Regions from separate parts of the Homo sapiens genome. Here regions 1 and 2 are each linked to region 3. Evidence: promoter capture Hi-C in human tissues and cell types (Jung and others, 2019). All regions are on one chromosome and are shown on one strand. The core of a region is centred on a gene start or on the middle of the fragment in contact, and the rest is flanking DNA. Distances in the headings are between cores, read along the strand shown. Region 1 has its middle 380 kb from the start of FSTL5. Region 2 has its middle 460 kb from the start of MIR4454. Region 3 holds the start of NPY5R (neuropeptide Y receptor Y5).

What was found. The method cuts DNA at HindIII sites, captures the fragments that hold promoters and counts their contacts. A contact is called where the count stands out against the background at its distance.
Region 1: a fragment that was not itself captured here is called in contact with the fragment with the promoter of NPY5R in region 3 in 2 of the 25 tissues and cell types used here (dorsolateral prefrontal cortex and hippocampus).
Region 2: a contact is called between a fragment that was not itself captured here and the fragment with the promoter of NPY5R in region 3, in 1 of the 25 tissues and cell types used here (dorsolateral prefrontal cortex).

The regions. Positions count from the first base shown.
Region 1 is chr4:162,542,119-162,546,441 of GRCh38, reverse strand. No RefSeq gene overlaps it. Among named protein-coding and RNA genes, the nearest start is that of FSTL5, 380 kb to the right of the region's middle. The HindIII fragment of the contact is 3,472 bases long and covers 1,058-4,323 here.
Region 2 is chr4:162,631,994-162,636,130 of GRCh38, reverse strand. No RefSeq gene overlaps it. Among named protein-coding and RNA genes, the nearest start is that of MIR4454, 460 kb to the left of the region's middle. The HindIII fragment of the contact is 8,643 bases long and covers 1-4,137 here.
Region 3 is chr4:163,341,936-163,346,079 of GRCh38, reverse strand. It overlaps NPY5R (neuropeptide Y receptor Y5), which reads right to left and starts at 2,188. Exons shown (of 4, transcript NM_006174.4): 1 at 2,080-2,188; 2 at 327-366. It also overlaps a transcript of NPY1R not described here. The HindIII fragment of the contact is 9,678 bases long and covers 1-3,043 here.

The sequences.
Region 1 (4,323 bases), core at 1,544-4,043, 800 kb after region 3:
CCAGAGCAACCAGGCAAGCAAAAGAAATAAAATACATCAAAGAGGAAGAGACAAAGTCAAGCTATCCCTGTTTGCAGACAATATGGTTCTATACCTAGAAAACCCATAGTCTTGACCCAAAAGCTCTTTGATCTGATAAACAACTTCAGCAAAGTTTCAGGATACAAAATCAGTGTACAAAAGTCAGTATCATTCTTAGACACAAACAACATCCAAGCTGAGAGCCAAACCAAGAACAAAATCTCATTCACAACAGTCGTAAAAAGAATAAAATAACTAGGCATACAGCTAACCAGGGAGGTGAAAGATCTCTACAATGAGAATTACAAAACAATGCTCTAATAAATCACATGACATAAACAAATGGAAAAACATTCCATGCTCATGGATAGAAAGAATCAATGTAGTTAAAATGGCCATATTTCCCAAAGTAATTTATAGGTTTAGTGTTCCTATCAAACTACTAATGACATTCTTTATAGAATTAGAAAAAAGCTATTTTAAAATTCACATGGAACCAAAGAAAAGCCTGAATAGCCAAGGCAATCTTAAGCAATAAGAACAAAGCTGGAGGCATTACATAACCTGACTTCAAACTATACTACAAGGCTACAGTAACCAAAACAGCATGGCACTGCTGCAAAAACAGACACATAGACCAATGGAACATAATAGAGAGCCCAGAAATAATGGACACACCTACAACCATCTCATCTTTGACAAAATCAACAAAAACAAGCAATGGGGAAAAGACTCCCTATTCAAAAATGGTGCTGGGATAACTGGTTTGCCATATGCAGATTGAAACTGGACCCCTAAAGTCAACTCGAGATGTATTAAAGACGGAGAAAATGCAAATCCTAAAACTATAAAAATCCTGCATTATAACCTAGGAAATTCCATTCTGGACATAATTTCAATAATGATTTCATGATTAAGATACCAAAAGCAATTCTAATAAAAACAAAAGTGGATAAATGGAATCTAATTAAACAAAAGAACTTCTTCACAGCAAAAGAAACAATCAACAGAGTAAACAAACAATGGGAAAAACATTTTGCAAACTATGGATCCAACAGAGGTCTAATATCTAGAGTCTATAAGGAATTTAACTTTACAAGCACAAAACAACCCTATAAAAAGGTAGGCAAAGAACACGAGCAGATACCTTTTAAAAGAAGACGTATATGCTTCCAACAAGCACATGAAAAAATGCTCAACACTGCTGTTAGGAATGTAAATTAGTTCAGCCATTATGGAAAGCAGTTTGGTGATTTCTCAATAAACTTAAAAGAGAATTACCATTTGACACAGCAATCCCATTATTAGGTATATATCCAAAGAAATATAAATCATTGCACCATAAAGACACATGCACCTGTGTGTTTATTTCAGCACTATTCATAATAGCATAGACATGAAATCAACTTAAATGCCTATCAAAAGTAGACTGGATAAAGAAAATATGGTACATATACACCATAGAATACCATGCAGCTATGAAAAGAATGAAATCTTGTCCATTGCAGCAATGTGGTTGGAGCTGGAGGCCATTATCCTAAGTCAACTAACACATGAACAGAAAACTAAATACCACATGTTCTCATTTATAAATGGGAGCTAAACATTGAGTACTATGGACACAAAGAAGGGAACAACAAAAAATAGGGCCTACTTGAGGGTGGAGAGTGGGAGGAGGATGCAGATTAAAAAGCTACTTAGTAAAAGGAAAACTACAAAACACCACTGGAAGAAATCACAGATGACACAAACAAATGGAAACACTTCCCATGCTCATGGATTGGTAGAATCAATATTGTGAAAATGACCATACTGCCAAAAGCAATCTACAAATTCCATGCAGTTCCCATCAAAATACCACCATCATTCTTCACAGCACTAGAAAAAAACAATCCTAAAATTCATATGGAACCAAAAAGAGTTTACATGCCAATGCAAGTCTAAGCAAAAGGAATAAATTGGGAGGCATCATATTAACTGACTTCAAACTGTGCTACAAGGCTATAGTCACCAAAACAGCATGGTACTGGCATAAAAATAGGCACATAGACCAATGGAATTGAATAGAAAACCCAGAAATAAACCCAAATACTTACAGCCAACTGATGTTTGACAAAGCAAACAAAACATAAAGTGGGGAAAGGACAACCTGTTCAAAACATGGTGCTGGGATAATTAAGCCACATGTAGAAGAATGAAACTGGATCCTCATCTCTTACTTTACACAAAAATCAACTTAATGGATCAATGACTTAAATCTAAGACCTGAAATCATAAAATTTCTAGAAGATAACGTCAGAAAAACCCTTCTAGACATTGGCTTAGGCAAAGACTTCATGACCAAGAACCCAAAAGCAAAGGCAACAAAAACAAAGATAAATAAATGACAATTAAATTTAAAAACTTCTGCACAGCTAAAGAAATAATCAGCAGAGTAAACAGACAACCCAGAGAGTGGGAGAAAATCTTCACAATCTACAAATCGATAAAGGACTAATATCCAGAATCTACAAGGAAGTCAAACAAATCAGCAGGAAAAAAAATCCCATCAAAAAGTGGGCCAAGGAGATGAACAGACAATTCTCATAAAAGATATAAAAATGGCCAATGAACATATGAAAAAATGCTGAATATCACTAATTATCAGGGAAATGCAAATCAAACCAACAATGCAATACCACCTTACTCCTGCAAGAATAGCCATAATTTAAAAGTCAAAAAATAATAGATGTTGGCATGGATACAGTGAAAAGGGAAAACTTTTACACTGCTGGTGGGAAAGTAAACTAGTACAACCACTATGGAAAACTGTGGATTTAACTATTCAAACAATACAAATTGTATGTAGAAAAGTTGAATTATCTCTCCATTCTTCTCCTCCATATTATTTTCCCCCAAAGTACCAAACTTTATCAGGTAGTTGTGCAACTTTGAACAATTATCTCTGTGTTTAAATAAACATATTGAAAAGTGTGTATTACATATAAAGTTTTACTTATTGCTTTTTAATAGGAAATTTACTCCACAACTTATTTATTCATTTAATATTGCATTACCAATATGTCATCATGTTCTTTCTTTCTCTGTCTTTGCATGTGAGGTATATATGTATATGAATTCATGTAATTGTTTGTGATTGATTACAAACTATTTGAGGCATGAAATTATGACCTTATTAGAGAAAAGTTAGGTTGGCATGACAACCATATACCGTTTGAAATTGCAGGTTGTTTGGATCCAAATGTATAAACTTTATGGTTACTTCTTATATATTACACATATATATACACACACATATATATACACACACATACATACATATATATGTATCTCCACACACAAACACACACATTTTATATATATACACATATTATACCTATAATTTCAAATGTGTGTATTTTAAACACTATCATCACTATTATTTTAACAGCTGTAAAGTAGAAGATATATAAATATACTTTGCTAACTAATGATAATATTTAAACCACATAAACTCTCCTTCTCTTTTCAAAATATCTTAATATGTATATAACAACCATTTCTTAGAATTATATCATTGGGAATAAAGAATCCAGAACAGAAAAGGGAAATCTTAGTGAACACTAATTTTTTTGGGCAATATTTATGCTTTCTTACAAAAGCTCCAGTACTATTGCCATGGAAATGTGTATGAGTGTTTTTAGGGTAACTGTGAAAGAAAAACTAATGGGTTCTAATTTCAAACATTAAAATTGTGTAATTATTTTAAGTTTTTAAAATACTTTCTCATAATCTAATGATAACGCTAAAAGCTTTATGCTTTTTTTCATAAGTGACTGTAAATCTCTTTTAGTGCTGGAAGCAAAAATTAAAATGTAAATTATCTGCTATATTAAGTATTTTAATTACAATGAAAGAATGGAAACAGCTCTATTTCAATAAGTAGATTATGTTAAAAATGATAATGAACCTTTTGATAATGTGATTGTTAGTATATCAGGATCAGGAGAGAATTGAAGGAAGATGTACTGAGACTTATGATGTGCCAGACACTGTACTTTGAGTTTTGAATACATTGTCTAATCTAGACACAATAACAACCTTTTAGAAAGGAGCAATGCAGATGAACATCTATATTCATAAATAATGCACTCCTAAGAACTGCTTGGAAAATGAATATGAAAAGAGTCACTTTTTACTTACATAGTAAAAGTGTACCCAATTCTGAATATGAATAAAATATAAGATTAAATAAGATTTGCTTAACTCTTGTTATTATAAAGGCATAAATGGTAATTTAAATAATAAATATTTATTATATAT
Region 2 (4,137 bases), core at 713-3,212, 710 kb after region 3:
AAAATACCAGTATAACCTCCATTAATAGTGATGAAACATTTTTATAAATTATTTTTGAGTAATAGATGTAGTTACCCTTGCTTTATGCTACCATAAAACACCCAACTTAACTGTTCATTGTTTACTACCATCTTGCTCCTTCAACCATGAGATCCTTGAAGACAATTTACCTTAGCTTGATGTCTTCCCATTGCCAGCAAGTAGGACTGTGACTGGAATGTAGTAAAAACTATAAAAGTGTTTATTAAATGAATGGTTTTAAAAGGCACAATTTATATATTTCTTTTCTCTTTATATTCTTTTCAAGTTTTATTTTCTTTTTTGGTTTTTGTTGTTATGTATTTAAGGTGTACACCCTGAGGATATGATACATGTATGCATTGTGAAATAGTTACCTTAATCATATTAATTAATATATCCATCACCTCACTTAATTATCATTTGCTAAGATCTACTCTCTTAGCAAATTTCCAAGTATAGAGTAGTGTTACCTATAGTTACCATCCTATATATTAAATCTACAGAGATGATTAATCTGACATAACTGAACCGTTGTACCATTTGACCAATTCTTATTTTCCAGTGTCTATAGATATCCTTCATTCTAGTCATATTCTGTAGTGAGATAGTAAGTTAACGGAATACAGTATTAAATTTGATCCAAATTCAAAGTGCAATTTAGTGTAATCTTTTAAAAAGCTGTTTTAATATGGCATACTCTTTCAACATTTTAAATATTTTTATTATAGTAACCTGCTTAATTTGTGTTTTTCAAAAATGCCTTTGATTTTTTTAAAAAATTTATTTTCAATGTTTGCGAGTACATAGGTGTATGTATTTTTACTGTACGTGAGATATTTTGATACAGGCATACAGTATATAATAATCACATCAGAGTAAATGAGGTATTCAATACCTTGAGCATTTATCCTTTCTTTGTGTTACAAACAATGCAATTATACTGTTTTACTGATTTTGAAATGTACAAGAAATTATTTACTGTAGTCATCCTGTTGTGGTATCAAATGCTAGATTTTATTCATTCTATCTAACTATATTTTTATACTCTTTAATCATTCCCACTTACCCCTTACTCTCACTACCTTTCCCAGCCTCTGGTAACCATCATTCTACTCTCTAATTCCATGAGATCTACCTTCTTAGCTCCCACATATGAGTGAGAACATGTGATATTTGTTTTTCTGTGTCTGGCTTAACATAATGATCTCCGATTTCATCCATGTGGTTTCAAATGATATGATTTCATTCTTTTTTATGGCTGAATAGTGCTCCATTGTGTATATACAATGTGTGCCACATTTTCTTTATCCATTCATCTGTTGATGGACACTTAGGTTGCTTCCAAATCTTGGCTATTGAGAACAGTGCTGCAATAGACATGAAAGTGCATATAGCTCTACAATATACCGATTTCCTTTATTTGGGTATATATCTAGCAGTGGGATTTCTGGATCATATTATAGCTCTATTTTTAGTTTCCTGAGGAAATTTCAAATCATTCTCCAAAGTGGTGGTAGTAATTTACATTCCTACCAACAGGTGCAAGGGTTCTCTTTTCTCCACATCCTCATTAGCATTTGTTATTATCTGTTTTTTTTTTTTTTTTGATAAAAGCTATTTTAACAGGGGTGACATGATATCTCATTGTAGTTTTGATTTGCATTTATCTGATGACCATTGATGTTGAGAACGTTTTCATATACTTGTTTGTCAATTGTCTTTCTTTGAGAAATGTATATTCAGATATTTTGCCCATTTTTATATTGCATTATTGAATTTTTTTCTATAGAATAGTTTGAGCTCCTCCTATATTGTGGTTATTATTCACTTGTCAGATGGATGGTTTGCAAATATTTTCTCTCCATTCTGTGAGTTGTCTCTTCACTTTGTTGATTGTTTGCTGTGAAGAAACTTCTTAGTTTGATGTGATCTCATTTGTCCATTTGTGCTTTGGTTGCTTGTACTTGTGGGGTATTACTCAAGAAATCTTTGCCTAGTCAAATGTCCTAGAGAAGTTATTTTGGTAGTTTCAAAATATGAGGTCTTAGATTTAAGTCTTTAATTAATTCTGATCTGATTTTTGTATATGTCAAGAGATGAGGTCTAGTTTTATTCTTTTGTATATGGATATCCAGATTTCCCAGCAGCATTTATTGAAAAGGCTGTCCTTTCCCCAATGTATATTCTTGGCACCTTTGTCAAAAATGAGTTCACTGTAGATCTATGGATTTGTTTCTGAGTTCTCTATTCTGTTCCATTGGTCTGCATGTTTGTTTTTATGCCAGTATCATGCTGCTTTGATACTATAGCTCTATAGTATAATTTGAAATTGGGTAATGTGATTCCTCCAGTTTTGTTCTGTTTGCTCAGGATAGCTTTGGCTATTCTGGGTCTTTTGTGGTTCCATATGAATTTCGGATTTTTTTTCTATTTCTGTGATGAATGTCATCAGTATTTTTATAGGCATTGCTTTGAATCTGTACAATGCTTTGGGTAGTATGGACATTTTAACGATGTAAATTCTTGCAAACCATAAACATAAAATATCTTCCCATTTTTTGTGTCCTCTTTAATTTCTTTTGTCATCATATTATAGTTTTTATTTTACAGATCTTTCACTTTTTTGGTTAATTCCTAGGTATTTTATTTTATTCATAGCTATTGTAAACGGGATTACTTTCTTAATTTCTTTTTCAGATTGTTCATTATTGGCATACAGAAATGTTATGGATTTTGTAGTTTTTTTCTTTTTTCAAGATAGGATCTTGCTCTGTCACCAAGATTAGAATTTAGTGGTACAGTCTGAGCTCACAGCAACCTCCACCTCCCATGCTCAAGCGATCCTCCTACCTCAGCCTCCTGTGTATCTGAGACTGTAGGCACATGCCACCACACTCAGCTAATTCTAAAATTTTTTTATAGAGATTAGGTCTCATTATATTGCCCAAGCTGGTCTGAAACACCTGGGCTCAAGCAATCCTCCTGCCTCAGCCTCCTAAAATGTTGGGACTATTGGCATGAGCCACTGGGCCCAACCTGCTACAAATTTATGTATGTTCATTTTGTATTCTGCAACTTTACTAAATTTGTGTGTCAGTTCCAATAGCTTTTTGGTAGAGTCTTTAGGTTTTTCTAAGTATGAGATCACATCATTTGCAGATAAGGATAATTTGACTTCTTCCTTTACAATTTGGATGCCCTGTATTTCTTGCTGTTGTCTTATTGCTGTAGCTTGGACTTCCAGTACTATGTTGAATTGTAGTGATTAAAGTGAGCATCCTTGTCCTGTTTCACATCTTAGAGGAAAGGTTTTCAGTTTTTCCCCATTCAGTATGATACTAGTTGTGGGTCTATCATATGTAACTTTTGTTGTACTGTGGTATGTTTCTTCTATACTCAGCTTTTTGAGTAATTTTACTATGAAGGCATGTTAAATTTTGTCAAATACTTTTTTCACCATGAATTGAAATAATCGTATGGTTTTTATTCTTTATTCTGTTAATGTGATGTATCACATTGATTAATTTGTGTATGCTGAGCCATTATTTTATCCATGTGTTAAATCCCACTCAGTCATGATGATTGCTCTTTTTAATGTGTGGTTGAATTCGATTTGCTAGTATTTTTTTTGAGGATTTTCATATCAATGTTCATTAGGAATATTGGCCTATAATTTTGTTGTTGTTGTGTCTTTGTCTAGTTTTGGTATCAGGTATCAGGAACCTAGTTTTGGTACTGGCCTTGTAGAAAGAGTATGGAAGTACTCCCTTCTCCTGTACTTTTGAAATAGTTTGAGTAGGATTGGTATTATTGGTTAATTCACCATTGAAATGATCAGATTCTGGACTTTTCTTTGCTGAGAGACGTTTTATTACAAATTCAATGTCGTTACTTGTTACTTGTCTCTTCAGGTTTTAGGTTTTTTCATGGTTCAATCTTGGTAGGTTGTATGTGTCTAGGAATTAATCCATTCATTCTGGGTTTTCCAATTTATTGGCATATAGTTGCTCACAGTAGCCTCTAATAATCCTTTGAATTTCTGCAGTATCATTTGTAATGTCTCTTTTTTTATTTCTGATTTTATTTATTTGGGTCTTCTCTTTTTTTTTTCTTTCT
Region 3 (4,144 bases), core at 939-3,438:
TCTACCACATAAACATACACACATGTAATATCTAATATATAGTCTGCACAGAATGAACATTCTGTGAATCTTTGCTCCAATGAAGGAAGAATTTCTTCTTACGACTAAATAATGAATATTGCAAATGCTGGAGGCAGGGAGGGGGGGTGGGGGAGGGGTGGTGGTGGACGTGTAGTTTTTTTAAAAGTGCCTCCTGGTAGCCAGGGGATAGTTTAAACATTAGGAAAATTTTGTACAATAAGATTTAAGTTGAAAATCTAAGGTACAGGAACGCACTTAAAATGAAAAAACAAACAAAAAAGCAGGATTTTTTCCATTAAACTTACCCTTTCCCTTCCTTTTTCCTGAAAAACACAATGAGCAGACCTACAATGGAAATCCAAATTTCAACAAGTGTTATTACGAGTGCTGTACATTTTTATGCAACATATTTTATCTATTATAAAAGTAATGATATATGTGAATCTTCTGAAATTGCTATATAAATTATGAAATATAGCCAGAGAAAAAATATTTTAACATGGAATATTATTTGACAAGAAATCTGATATTGACAGCATGAGACTTTTGTCATACCTAATTACTATATTTACTCATTCTCTTTTGTATTAGTTGTATCTCCCACCATCAGAATTTCCAGGCTGAAACACAGAACTTTAATCTCTGAGTAAAAAGTGTGAAAAATAAAAGTTCTTTATTAAACTATGGCAACTTATAAAAAATAATATCTTTTTAAAGGTTTACTGGAATTTTCTTATAAACTCTTCTATATCTGACACCTAGACAAATGAAACCTTCTGAATAGATTTTAAGTATTTTAAGAAAGTAGATAGTTCTCAAGAATAATAGGAGGAACTGCAGGGAATTCAAAGGATATTAAAAGTCTGACTTGTACATTTAAATAAGGTTTCTTTGTTTGAATAATTTTTTGCTTTATGAAAATACACATCATTCTTTTCACAAAGGATGACAATCACACAAAAGAATAAAATATATGTAATTCTTTTTCCTCCTGCAATGATACAATATCAACTATTGTCTGTTTTGCTGTGATCGTGGAACAGCAGCATGATTCCATGTTCTCAAATATTCCCATGGTTTGTTCTTAAAGCCAGAATCTGGCACAATTTGAATTGGAAAGATAAATACAGCTCTGCTCAGCTGACAAACACACAGGCATGCACCACCCTCCCTTCCAAATTCTAACAGCAGAGTTTCTCTTCCCTTGAGAAATCTGAAATCTAAAATTGCATTCGGACTGCAAAATTCTGCTGAAAGAGCCTTAGGCTATTTTCCATGGTCTAAGGTAAAATCGTTTTGGCTTTGGTCCAACACAACGCCTCAGTTCCTTTAAAAGATTAACTAAAGGTCTGTGAACTTGGAAAAAAGAATTCCCGTTTCTGGAATTCGAGTTCTATGGATGTTTGTTATTGCTCGCATTTGTTATATGAAGACACCTCGCAAACAGGAGCGCAAACCTTAGAGCGCAGCTGCCTCCCGGGCTCGGGTCAGCGCTGGACCGCGCGGCAGCTGGACGGCCTGAGTGGCGCCCCGCGGGCTGCGCCCCCGGCCTCGCCAGAGACCCGCTAGGGTTGAGCCCTGACCCGGGCACCCCGCGGGCTGCTGTTCCCAGCTCCGGATGCCAGCCGGGCTGCAGCCAGAGCGCGTCCAGCCGGGGGCAGCGCTTTGTCCATCCCCCGCCCCATCCCCAGGAGGCTCCTTCGCGGATCCCCGACACTCTCCTCCCGGGTTCGGCCCGCGCCTGCTCCACCCGGGTGAGTTGGGAACCGGAGGGACCTGCTCGGCACGAAAGAATTCAGCCCAGTACCCTCTCCGCTGTCTCTTCACTCCTGACAAGTGCCTGTTCCGCCACCCTAATCCCCATTTTTCCAGCCGCGCTCCCTTCACCTTCCCCACCCCGCTCTCTTGGGACCCCCGACAACGCCCTGGCACCAGAGACGGGTGCGGGCTCCCAGGGACCTGCGCAGACTCGCAGCCCGCGCGGGGACCCGCCACGGCCCCTCGGTGCAGGCCTACCCGGCGCGAAAGGGGTTGGCAGGGAGGGGCGGGAGCCCGTACCTCGGGGCGCCCCGGCCGCTGCAGGCCCTGGGCTCCCGGGAGCGCGGCCCAGCGCGATCGCTCCTGCACCCCGGCGGTGGCGGCAGCAGCGGGAGCAGGACCTGGAGGCGGCGGTGGGGAAGAGGGGGCGGGGGTTTAACGGCGTCTCGAGAACACGTGACTGTTCCGGGGACCCCCGAGACCCTGCTCCAAGGCGCCTGCTCCGCGCCAGCCTCTTCCAAAGCCGGGGGCCGGGGGCGTCCCAGACCTACGCCGCTGTTTGGGCGCTCTAGGGAGAAGCCACAGGGCCCCGGGATGTCGTCCCTTCACCCTGGCCTCGGGTCCCAGGCCGACCAAGTTAACTTGATGGGCAAATCGAGTTTTGCCGGTCCAGCCCTCAACCCTGTGTAGTGAACTCTGAGAAGTCTTGGACTGGTGTGAGGATGGCTGTGCCCCTAAGTTCTTAGTATTCCTGAGAACAAGCTTCGACTCTCAGGTTTTATCTTTGTTTGGGGTGGGGGACGGTGGGGGGTGGTGTGGTGATAGAAAGAAAGAAAGAAAAAAGACAAAACACTGCTCTTCCTTTGCACCTCTTTGAAGTAAGGAAGAGTGGAGGTGGGGAGGCTGACCCAATGTTCAGGAGAGGCAACAGCGTCTGCGGTAATGAGCCCAGCAGAATAGAAGGGAAGTTTCCCCACTCCAAGGAGTGGCAGCTGTGGGTGTGGGCAAGTGGCAGGAGCAGGGGAGTGAAGCTGAAATGAAATCAACGCTGCTCAAGACTATATTCAATAGCAAAGAGAAGACGAAGGGCTAAAAACGAATTGTCACAGGTTAAAAAAAAAAAAAGACGGGAAAAAAGCCCACACAAAAGAAGAAGAGAAAACCTGTCCTTCTGTTCCTTCCCAACATGATTTCCATCCCTAATGTTTCCAAATCTGTATTGCGCAGGTTTGCTTTATTTTTAGCTAATCATTAGGTGGCAGGTACTTTAGGCGCGCGCGCGTGTGTGTGTGTGTGTGTGTGTGTGTGTGTGTGTGTGTCTGTGAGAGAGAGAGAGAGAGAGAAGGAGAGAAGGGAGAAAAGAGACATTGGGTAGATGTCCATGTGTCTTTGGACATAGCTTTACCATGAGAAAGGGTGTAGTTATTGTACCCTTTAATACTGAGAACTATTATGTAACAGACAGCATCTCCTGCTGAGTAGAGTCGTGTGGGATAAACCGAAGAGAACTGTACCCCTTGGGAGCAATGTGACTTGTAATTCTAACATCTGGGGCAGACATCACTGTTACAGAAGAGGTCAAAGAAAATTTTTTGTGTCCCCTTTCTGCTGGATTTCAGCATTCAATACTCAGGGGATCTGTATAGATTGCTATTTCATCAGTCAAAGAGTCATCCAAGAGCTTTTAAAGAACTCAAGTAAACACAGTTCCTGTTTTATTCTTCTGTGTGTTATTTCTGAAATATTAATATATTCTCCCCAAAAGCTTAACAGAATAGGCCGTCTGAGCAGGCACCTGGGATTCTGCAGTAAGGAGTAGGGGATGAAAGTGTCAAGAAGGGATGACCTTGAGAAAATAAGGCTTGTTTTTTAGACTTTCTTAACTCCACTGTCTCTGCGGTTAATGCAGTACACATTGCCACATAAATTTCTATCTTTCCATCTCTTGCACAGTCATAACATGTACACTTCAAATACACATTGTCTTTAAAACAAATTCCAAGTGAACCCCATTGTGACTTTCAAAACACTAGTCTATGCTACAGGCTTTTGCATATTAAAAGTATTAAAAAATCTTATTTTTTATTTTCCACAAATTTGTTTTCTATTTTGATGATATGAACCTTTAGGTTGAAGTCACTGTTATTAGAGTATTGAAAATAAAAGGCTACCTGCCACTGATACAAAGATTCTAATTAACCTGGCTATTTTCCCTTCCCACTGCACCCACAAACAAGCAAGTCTCAAAAACAGGAGTTGGCATTTCTTCTTTAAATACACGTGACAATACACAGTATTAAGAACACTTGGAGTGGACAAGTTATTAAGAGTTTTTTTGAGGAAATTATAAATTTACAAATTTAAG